Linked DNA regions of Homo sapiens: region 2 is linked to region 1. The links are contacts of gene promoters, found by promoter capture Hi-C in human tissues and cell types (Jung and others, 2019). All regions are on one chromosome and are shown on one strand. The core of a region is centred on a gene start or on the middle of the fragment in contact, and the rest is flanking DNA. Distances in the headings are between cores, read along the strand shown.

Evidence for each region. The method cuts DNA at HindIII sites, captures the fragments that hold promoters and counts their contacts. A contact is called where the count stands out against the background at its distance.
Region 2: a fragment that was not itself captured here is called in contact with the fragment with the promoter of SLCO3A1 in region 1 in 2 of the 25 tissues and cell types used here (bladder and dorsolateral prefrontal cortex).

Annotation. Positions count from the first base shown.
Region 1 is chr15:91,850,490-91,856,138 of GRCh38, forward strand. SLCO3A1 (solute carrier organic anion transporter family member 3A1) reads left to right here and starts at 3,219. Exons shown (of 10, transcript NM_013272.4): 1 at 3,219-3,599. The coding sequence starts at 3,420. RefSeq lists silencers at 2,641-2,815, 2,684-2,823. The HindIII fragment of the contact is 13,420 bases long and covers 1-5,649 here.
Region 2 is chr15:92,666,633-92,672,281 of GRCh38, forward strand. No RefSeq gene overlaps it. Among named protein-coding and RNA genes, the nearest start is that of FAM174B, 14 kb to the left of the region's middle. The HindIII fragment of the contact is 4,660 bases long and covers 671-5,330 here.

The DNA.
Region 1 (5,649 bases), core at 1,969-4,468:
TCTCCAAGTCCCCATCCGACCCAGGAAGTCCAGCTGGCTTCACCTCTCACTCCCACCAATTTGGGGTGGCAAATGTAGACTCAATTCCTGCCACTTGCTGGCGGTGAGCTCCCAAAATCCACCTACTGTTGTTTCTTTTGAGAAAAAAAAGGGGCTAATAAGACCAGCTCTCCCTGTTGTAAGCTTCAGCTGAGATACAGGACATAGAAGTACTTCATAAGCATTAACGTGCTGTACAGATACAAGGATGTTTACTATTTTTCTGCTGCTTCCTCTATCTGCATACGGGGCTAGGGGAATGCCAAGCAGAAGCACTTGGTGCTCATAAACCCACCTTATCATCCCTGGAGCCCTGATCTACAAGTAAATAAAGGATGAGCAAAGAAGGAAGGGAGTTGAACTTGTTAAATTCCTTCTTTCTGACTGTTGTGAGGCCGCAGCCTGATTTCCCTGAGGCTGACTTTGATGATTCTTTAGGCTTCAGGCACCAGGATTACTTTCATGGCTGCTTACCATTAATTATAGGAAGAATCCACAACCCTAATCCGAAATCCTTTATCTGACAGCAAAAGTGTGTGATTTCTCTAAAGACAGCTAATTTTTTAATCTAAAATAAATGGTTAAGCTGAAAGAAGGCTGTGCCCTTCTCAGTCTGTACATGAGGCATTGTGGCATAGAACAAAAAGGGCTGGCCGGGCGTGGTGGCTCATGCCTGTAATCCCAGCACTTTGGGAGGCTGAGGCAGGTGGATCACCTGAGATCAGAGTTCGAGACCAGCCTGACCAACATTAAGAAACCCCGTCTCTATTAAAAATACAAAATTAGCCGGGTGTGGTGGCACGTCTGTAATTCCAGCTACTCCAGAGGCTGAGGCAGGAGAATCACTGAAACCCGGGAGGTGGAGGTTGCCATGGGCCGAGATCGCACCATTGCACTCCAGCCTGGGCAACAAGAGCGAAACTCCATCTCAAACAAACAAACAAACAAAAAAGAACAAAAAGGGCTGGACATGGATGCAAGTTTTGTTCCTTTCCAGCTTTATAAAAGAGGAACAACATAAGTCCCAGCCTCCCCATCAGATGAACCACACTGCGTGATAAACGAGATAATATGTATGTAGTTATAAAGAACCTGGGCTATGATGGCAGACAACCTGGTTTTCAAAGACTTGCCCTGCCACTTACTAGACAAGTGACACTGGTCAGGTTAACCTTTCTAGGCCTCAGTTGTCTCATCTGTAAAACAAGGCTAATAATAGTATCTGGTTTAGAGGATTGCTGTGAGGATTACGTTGTAAATGCGGGTGAAGCACTGAGAATGGTGTCTGGCCATAATAAGCACACAGTAAACATTAGCTCTTGTTATTACAAAGAATGTAAATAAGAGTTGAAGACTATAAAGCACTCCGCACATTTCATTAGCAATGGGGTCACCATTCGTAGACAAGTCTCAGCTCAGCTTTGCAGCTTACCGTCACAGAGGCAGGGAACAGAGCTAGCTTGTCAAGGGTCTTCTCAGGAGGAAGTGGGGAGGTAGCCCATGAAGCAAAGTGATGGGGAGGGAAAGAGGGGGACATAAAGATCCTGCAGAGAAGTTGGCTCCGAGTGATAGGAGGGTGTGGGGAAGAAAGAAGGGGGCAGTAAGGATTCTCATTATAGGACTGGCCGGGAATGGTGTGACCACTGATTCAGGAAGTGGGGAAGACGGGAAGAGACTTCAAGTGTGGGGGGAGCCAATTCAGATAGGAGGTGGCCTAGACAAGGTGAGGGCATCTCAAAGCGACACCAAGCCTGGGTGAGATCACGTCTGGAGCCACAGAAGGATGAAGCAGTTTATATTTAAATGCCATGGCAAAACAACATCCCCACCATTACACCCTCCATTCTCATTCAAGTTCTTCGGGAGAAAGGAAAAATATGGTCGGGTTCATTGCTATTCAGTTTTGAAGTTGAGCCTGCATTTGGACACAGGCGCTTGGGAGAGTGGGTCATTTTCTTTGACACAATTATTAAGGAAACCGTTTTAAATGATTCCTTGAGTCCCCCAATGGCCCAGGTGGAAGGTGCTGTTTCCTGGTACCTGTCCAGCCCTCTGAGCTTTTCTCTCAGCTTCCAAACGCTGCAGTTGAGAACTAGCAGATCCTATTGGTAGTGCCCTGTGGCCCACACTCCTTGGTAACGGTGAGAGTGGGGAGTAATTAGGAGCGGCTGCCATGGGCCAGGCATTCAGGTCAAGGCCGAGGATGGTGGCCAGGGCCACAGAGCCAGGGGACGGGTGGGGACCCAGCAGGCCTGCGGCTGGCCGCTTGCTGAGCGCTCCAGCAGCGGGGCCCTGGGCGGATGAAGGGCCGGAGAAGGCCCTCTGCTGGGGCCGCGGCGATCTTGCAGCGCCTGGACACCGAGGCTGGGGCACTAACGGTCCGTGGGGCTCCCGACGTATTCCTCTAACTTCCCCTTTCTGTCCTTTCGGTCTGGGGCCTTTTCAACACCCCCTGTGGCCGGGGACAGCTGGGGCAGAAACCGGCAGGCGGCAGAAGCCTCAAGCAGCTCTGACCTCTGGCACCTCCCCAAGACCCAGAGCACAACATCTGTCCCCAGAAATCCCCGGGCGGAGAAGAGCGCGCGCCAAGCCCTTCCTGGGTACTCAGTATTCTCCCTTCCTGGGAACAGCCTGCCCTCTGAGGCCTGGGCACCCGGGTTCCCGAGCGCCGGGTCCCAGCCCCGCGGGGGCGCCTCCGCACCCCATCTCCGCGCCCGGCGCAGAGCCGCCAGTCTCCGCCGCGGGGCCCCGTGCCCCGCAGCGCCACCTAGGGGCCGGGCGCCGCCTCCCGCCCTCAGGGGCACCCCCCTTACTCCGCAAGGACTCCGGGTCTCCCCAGTTCTCCCGGCAGCCGGACCCTCCCAGCCTCGGCCGCCGGGCCGCCCTCCGCATCCCAAGCCCGCCTCCCGTGCCTCCCCGGGGGCGCACCGGCAGCGAGGAGCGGCTCGGCGAGGGCGCGCAGCGGCGGCCCAGGCCCAGGCCTTGGGGCTGGGGCTGAGGGGGTGAGAGCAGGCGCGGCCGGCGGGCAAGGGGAACCGGGCGATGGCAGCGGCGGGCGGCCGCGGGAGGCGAGGCAGCGGCGGCGGCGGGCGGCGCGACGAGCCCCTGTGATTGGCACAGCCGGAGCCGGAGGAGGAGGCCAGGGGAGGGCGGAGGCGGGGGAGGAGGAGGAGGAAGGGGCGATCGCGGCGGCGGCGGCGGCGGCGAGGAGCTGTGCCTTCCACCTCTCCAGCCCCGGCAGGACGGGGGCGGCCGCCGCGAACCCGGGGCGGGGACAGCACGCAGCCTCGAGGCGCGCACCCCCGCCCGGCAGCGGCCCCGACACCCGGGGCGAGCGGGAAAGCGGCAGCGGCGGCGGCGGCGGCGGCGGCGGGGGAAGGATGCAGGGGAAGAAGCCGGGCGGTTCGTCGGGCGGCGGCCGGAGCGGCGAGCTGCAGGGGGACGAGGCGCAGAGGAACAAGAAAAAGAAAAAGAAGGTGTCCTGCTTTTCCAACATCAAGATCTTCCTGGTGTCCGAGTGCGCCCTGATGCTGGCGCAGGGCACGGTGGGCGCCTACCTGGTGAGTCCCCGAGCCAACTCCGCCGCGGGCCCCTTCCCCAGCCCGGCTCTCGAGCGGCCGCCTGGCCCGACGAGGGGGCCGCCCGGCGCTGGGGGCAGGCGGGCATGACCTCGGCCCGGCGTGGAGGTTGGCGAGTGGTGCAGAGGCGGCCGCCGGGGGAGCTGCCGGCCGGGGCTGCCAGCGAGCGGGTAGCGGGCGGGACCGTTGATGCCGGTAGCAGCTCGCGCGCGTCCGGCTGGGGCAGGGGGTGCCGGGGGAGGAGAGGCGGCGGGCAGGTGGGCGTGAAACTATTCCTCTCCCCCCATAAGAGCGGAGCGAGACGGTGAGTTCAGGGTTCTCCTTGGAGAGGAACGAAAAAGCGTCGGGGTTTTCAGGTGACCTGCACATGGGAAGAAAAACCAGTTAGCATCCTGCGTCCTCTACTCTCCATTGCATCCTCCTCGAGAACAAATCTATTATGCATCATTTTCTCCGGGCGCTTTCTACATCCGCCAATTACAGGGGGATATAACAGCTTAGAGTGAAATGCGCCCTAGTGTGGCCCTGGCCTGAGCCGGGGCTGCAGGGGGAATATTGCCACCCGGTATCCCTATAGCCCTCTTTGAGCGTCTGGGATAAAGTTACGGTACCTAGAGAGCAGCTGCGAGTTTGTGTAGTTCCTGCTATCCACTCTTAGTGCTAAATTCCCCATCGTGGTCTGTCGCCTACAGAAGGTTGCACCATTTTCCACAATGAATATGTATTTTATTTGCCTCCAGAAAGGGGATGTTAATGCTCAGAGGGCCCATGGGTGCGTAACATTTCAGAGGAAACAGCTTGTAATGACTCAGCACTGTCAGGTACCTACTTTGTCGCTTTCGCCTCCTCTGCTCAGGTGGTCGCAACTTGAGTTCCAGAGAGCGTGCTTCCACACCTAAGTACAGTCCTGTCTAAACGGGAAATTTTTTTTGAGAGTTTATAGTGTTAAATCATTACTTGGCTATTGACCCGCAACTGGAATCAAATGTCATAGACTTTGAGTATTCCTGAGCAAGTTTGATGGAGATAGAATTGGACAAGATTTTGGCCATTGAATAACCACATCCAGAGATAGAACCACGCGTATCCTGATGCTATGATTAATCCCTCATTCCTGGCCTTGGGGTAAAGTTCATGAGGGCCAGACGCTGGGGGCTGTATACCATTCATAAACTATCTCTTAAGGCTCAGGGCTCACTGTTAAAGGGAAATACAAGCAGTGCTTGGTCTCCGGTGTTGAGGAAGTTAGGTGGTTGTGAGAGAGGGGGTCTTCAAACTCAGCTCTGTTCCTGGGGTGACAGAATTTCAGGGCTTTTGAAAATCAAATACATTTCTGTTGCTCATTCTGAGACGAAAAGCGTTTACATCCCGGTCTCTGTCTTGTGCATTCGTAACTTGTAGACTGCAAGTGAACCCTGTAGTCAAAAGCATACCTTGTTTTCTGTTCTATAAAATACACTTATTGTGTCTATAGTTATAATATGCAGTTGCAGACAGTACCTATTAGCCCTTGGAATTTGAGGGATAGGGGATAATTGTGTTTTGGGAGTCAGTTTATCGGCACTTCCTTAGGGGAAATTTAACTGTTAAAATATTTAAATAAGTACATGTATTACAGAGATGCAAATTCACATTAATAAAATATATGTGGGTCTGTACTGTGACATATGCAAAGTACATAATACCTAACCGGGTCTATGTTTAGAAGGAGGTAATTAGTATATCAACAGCTGCCTCCACTTTAACGGTTTGTTTGCCTCAAACCAATTTTGCTCGGTAGAGTGCATTATTCATGTGTGGCAAACACCCGCAGAACTTTTCACCCCAGGAGTGATAAAAGCGTGGGCTTACTATTTTTCGGTTGCAGTGATCTAAGGATTTGACAAATAAATGAAGCTGGGCTGCAACTAGATGAATGGCCTAGCTCCTTTAGAAAGTTAAGAAGCCGAGTACTCCTGGAGTGGTGGACTTCTGGAGGCAGGGCTGGCCCCAGGAGATAGGAGGTTGACTTTAATCCCAGAACAGGGGAATG
Region 2 (5,649 bases), core at 1,751-4,250, 820 kb after region 1:
CCTATGCAAAATTTATATCAATACATTTAAGGTCTGCTTTATTATTTCATTTGTTTCTGAAATATGTCCTCCAAAAGACTTCACAATTATTCACCAAAAAAACTCAAAAATTTGCAGTTCTTTAATCCTCATTCTCACAACACCAGGCCACTGAGGCTCACACTGTTGTTCCATTTTGAAGATTAGGAAATGGAGACCTAATGAGGTTATCTGACTTGCCCCAGGGTTGGAAATGAGCGTGCCATGCAGCCCGTGTCCCCAGGGCCGCCCTCTCCCGTGCTGGCCTACTTTACAGCTGGCTAGTATCGTCAAACCATGGAAACAGCGAGCTGTTGCCAAAGAGAAATATTTCTATGAAAGTTTCTGAAGTGTCCCCTAGGAGAGCCTGCAGACGTCAGTGACGACATAATATTGCTGACAGAGCCCTCCCCACCAATCGTGCTGCTCAGAGAGTGCCACCCATGGAGCAACTTTTTAGGAGATTCCCACAGGATGGAAAGTCCTGAGGTGCATACGTGGAGGGACCCCACCTTTGAGCTCAGGTGGACCATCTGTCCACAGTTCCTTTCACAGTGCAGTACTTTTCCCATACACATCAAAGTTGCTTTGGATCGAGAGGCGAAGACCAGCAGGGCAGAGCTAAGCAGGCCACAGACATCTTTCCCCAGAAAAGCTGAGGGTGAGAGGCAGGGCGGTTCACCCTCCGGATGGCTGTTTGTAAAGTAAATATTGATTTTGAGCCATCCCCCAACCTGCTCAGGAAAACACACCAGCTGTTGCTTCTGCCTGCAGCTCCAAGTGGCAGTCACTCCCATGTCCAGAAACATCCTCTCCATACCTGTCCCCACTGCAATTCCCACAGCTGGCATCGTCAGCCTCTCCGTGACAGTGGAGTTAGACCTCACGTTTGCAGGAATTTGTGTTTTAATTCCCAGGCAGAGCTCGGGCCTCTGAGGGTTAGGGACACAGAAAAGGTCAGTTTGGGGATGGCCCCGGGTGGATGGCTGTTTCTCCTGTTCCCCACAGTGTGGAGCCCAAACCTTCACCCCTGTGTTGATGCATCCTAGACCCACTTTGGACATTTCCACCTCACAAGTAACGTTGGCAGCCACTTCCCGAGAGGCGCTGCTCTGCGTTCCTGACCATTTTTTTCTCACTCCTCTCCAGCCTCAGGGATACACCCTCCTGTTTGAGACCAGCCCCCACACGTTGGCCCTGAGTTCAACCCTCCTCCACCTCCTCTGAGGCTCTGCTTCACGCATTACCTCTGCTTCCTCCTGTATCTTCACCCTCCAGTAGATATTTCCCATTCTGGTTTCTCACTGAGAAAGAAAAGAAAAGAGAAACCAAGAGGGAGAGAGGGAGAGAGAAAGAGAGAGAGAGGGGAAGAGGAGAGGGGAAGGAAGGAAGGAAGGAAGGAAGGGAGGGAGGGAGGGAGGGAGGGAGGGGGAACGGGAGGGGGAATGGGAGGGAGGGAGGGGGAGCGGGAGGGGAGAGCCTACAACTTTGTGTGTCTCCCTTTTGCCCTCCCTGAACCTCTAAGTGGCATTTGATGATGCCAGGGCTTCCTGCCTTGGAGGTCTCCAGTTTTCTATCTTCCCTCTGACCTCTCTGTCCCCTCTCTCGGGAGCTGGCTCCTCTCCCTTTTAACTCAGTCCCCAGGGCTTCCTGCTGAGTTCTTTTCTCACTCTGGCCCCTCTCCCTGGGTTCTCAGGTACCCAGCATGTCCCACACAAGATTCTTCATCGTTCCCCAAAACCTGCCCTACCTCCAGAGCTCCTACGCTCTGCTGGCCACCACACTGCACTTGGCGGAGGCAGGAACCTAGGGGTCCCCCTACAATCCCCCCATTACTAAGTCCTTCCTCTTCTCTCCAGAAACAGTCCAAATCCAACCACGAGTAAGTTAGTGTAACTTGTTTGTTTATACGTCTCTCAAAACACACACACACACACACACACACGTAATGTCCATCAAATCAGGAGTTGTGTCTGTTTTGTTCATTGGCTATTTCTTCATCAACCAGAAATGTATCTGGCACACAGTAAGTGCTCAATAAATGTTGCTGGACTGAATGGATAAGTACCTACTGCCGTAGTTTATAGCAAGCAACAGGAGTTGAGTGCACGTATTTAAAGTCAGAAGGCAAGAGCTGGAATCTTGGCTTTGCCATTTACTCTCAGTGTAACTTGCACTAAATTAAACCTTAAGTCTCAATTTCCTCACCTGTAATATGGGCATAAAGATAGCAGCTCACTTATCATTAGGATTAAATGAGATAGCACATGTAGAGAACTTAGCATAATAACTGGTACGTATTAAGTCATCAATAAACATTACATATTATGTTTCTTATTGTTGTTCTTTCCTGTCCTCATGTGTCACCTGTATTATAACATCCTTCCAACCGTTCTCCAAGACTCCAGGCTCCTCTCTTCAGGAGAATTCCCACCCTAACATCGTAATCAGAGTGATCTGTCCAAATGCAAAATCAAGCATAATACTCCCTTGCTGAAAACCCTTATGGGGTTTAAACTCTGCCAGTAGAGTCCTAATTCCTTAGTATGGGCCCAGCTTCCCCACCCCCACCTCCCAGCACCCCAAACTCTAAATTCACTAAACTCCTAGCTTCATCTACCCTTACCTCCCAGCACCCCAAACTCTAAATTCACTAAACTCCTAGCTTCATCTACCCTTACCTCCCAGCACCCCAAACTCTAAATTCACTAAACTCCTAGCTTCATCTAACCCTTACCTCCCAGCACCCCAAACTCTTAACTTTACTAAACTCCTTCCATCCGAGCCTTTGCCTAAACTGCTCCCTGGTTCTTCCACCAGGAATGCTCTTCCTTAACCCTCTCCTCTCCATTTTTTGCTTAAAGAACTCCTCCTAATCATTCTACAAACAAGACATAAGCTCCTTTGTGAAGATTTTGCTAATCTCTTCTGCACAATCCCCCACCACCCCATACAAATTCACCCCTGCCCACACACATTCCTCTAGGACAGTTAAGGTGGACCAGCTGTCCCAGTCCAGGCAGGAATGAAGAAGTTGCCCAGAATGTGAGACTTTCAGTGCTAAAACTAGGAGAGTCCGGGGCAAACAAGGGCAACTCTAATAGCACAGATCACATTGTTTTGGAGTTAGCTGTCTTTCTGATAAGATTGGAGGCAGCAGAAAGCTTACTTTGATCATCTTCGTGTCCCCAACACCTATCCTGGTGTCAGGCACTTATATAGCCCATACTCAATAAATAGGTGCTGAACGCATTATTGAGGTAGTGTGGAGGCAGTGGAGGAACTAAAGGCCGTGGTTCGGATCCCATCCCCTCGCTGTATGACCTTAGGCAAGTTATTATTTTCATTTGTATATTTGTTTGTTACTGAATGATTGAAGGCAAATTTCTTGGTCTCGGCCTCTGTTTCCTCATTTGTAAAATGGACATAATACCAATTTCGTAAGAATGTTGTAAAGATTAAATGCATGTAGGGGCTGGGCGCGGTGGCTCACGCCTGTAATCCCAGCACTTTGGGAGGCCGAGGCGGGCAGATCACGAGGTCAGGAGATCGAGACCATCCTGGCTAACACGGTGAAACCCCGTCTCTACTAAAAATACAAAAAATTAGCCGGGCATGGTGGCGGGCGCCTGTAGTCCCAGCTACTCGAGAGGCTGAGGCAGGAGAATGGCGTGAACCCGGGAGGCGGAGCTTGCAGTGAGCCGAGATCGCGCCACCGCACTCCAGCCTGGACAACAGAGGGAGACTCCATCTCAAAAAAAAAAAAAAAAAGCATATGAAGTGCTTAACACAATGCCAGGCATATAACAAGCTTTCAATAAATGTTAGCTGCTATTTATATTCACTTTTTTTAAAGAGTTAGCACAGTGCATTCAATAAGGGTTTGTTCCCTTCTCCCCATTAAACAAATTAATACAGGTGGCCTTAAATGTAATTATACCACAGAGAAGGCTTCCCTTAGGACAGGGATCAGCCACCTTGGTTGCACATTAGAATCCCCTGGAGGACCTTACAAACACTGATGCTCAACTCCAGGCCAATTAATTCAAATCTTTGATGGATCCATGCATCAGCACGTTTAAAGGGCTCCCCTGAGGAGTCTAATAGGCAGCCAGTTGAGAACTTCTGCCTTAGGGCACTGGGTTGTGGCTCTTTACCTCTTAATTGCTGTACTGGGTCTTTCCAAAGTTATCCCTACTCTAGCTATTGTCAACCGCAAGTGTTTAATACCCTCTGTTCCCTTCACTTTGTCTTCAGGGCAGGAACTGGAGAATTCTCAGCTCCCTAACCATTCCTGGCCTGTCCCCAAGTTCCTAACAGCTTTTCACAGCTTGCCTATCCCTTCAGAGCCTTCACAGCTTGATATTCCCCCAGGAAGTTGAAGAAATGAAAAAGAGGTCACTTCATCTGTGTCTTCCTTAAGGGGACAGATGGTTCCATTTTCTAGCCAGTGTTTCTCAAACTGGAGTCCACAGACATGTTCTCAGGGACCCGCCAGTTCTGTATGAGGATTTTTTTTCTTTGCATTTTCAATTTGCTAATAATCTAAAAATATTACTATTGTCATTAACTGGTTGCCCCTTTATAAAAGACTGCAAGATTTGAGTGCCCCTACAAAATTCGGTATTTGAGGGGTTTTCATTTGTTTGCTTTGTGAGACAGGGCTCTCACTGTCACTCAGGCTGAAGTGCGGTGTTATGATCATAGCTCACTGCAGCCTCGAACTCCCAGACTCAAGCCATCCTCCCTCCTCAGCCTCCTGAGTAGCTAGAACTACAGGCGTGAGCCACCACACCTAGCTGATCTTTGAGTTGTGTAAAGGCAATGCACACATACAGATTTCGAATTAGTTCAGATAGAAGGACCAAGCAGGGAACCAAATCCTCCCATGGCACAAAGCAATTGAAGCAAAACAGACTCCAAATGACCAGCAAGTAGTTGTTAGTCTCAAATTAGCTGCAGAAACAGATGCAGTTTGTGCATCCTGTCAAAACGTAAGTGTTTGCAGCAGTTCATTAGCAGTGAGTAGTAAATATACATTTACTAAGATATTTTCTTCTCCCATTCCAAAAAAAATGGGAAGAGAAACCCCAGTTGAGGTAGATTTTAATAAAGCTATAATGCTAATTATATCCTTAAGTGAATGTGAGCCATGTACACATTTATCAAGGGCCATATAGTGCCTGATTGTCCAGCAGTAGCAAATACAGCCTTGACGTTAAATACCATGTGTGCCTCATTCTAATAAGAGACAGTCTTTGCATGGATATTATTAAAGTCAAAATACAGCAATAGATATAAAACTAGACCCAAGGCTGCATCTTTTCATTATTAAGCCAACAATAGGCATTTATTTTTAGTACAGCTCATCATAAGTCCCATCAAAATAATGTCGTTTAGATGTGCCTATGTACTCTCTTCTGCTTTCAATTTGTAAATTTGTTTTTGGTTTTATAGGTGCATAAGAGCTTGAAGCATAAACAGTTTATGCCTAGTTTTATTTTACACCTAATTAAGAGATGGTAAAAAATAACTCTATTGTAGCTGTCAATCCTCAATGATCTTTTCCCTGGTGGTCTGGAACACTCGTGCTGGCTACAGATCAGAATCAGACAGAGATTGTCAGACACA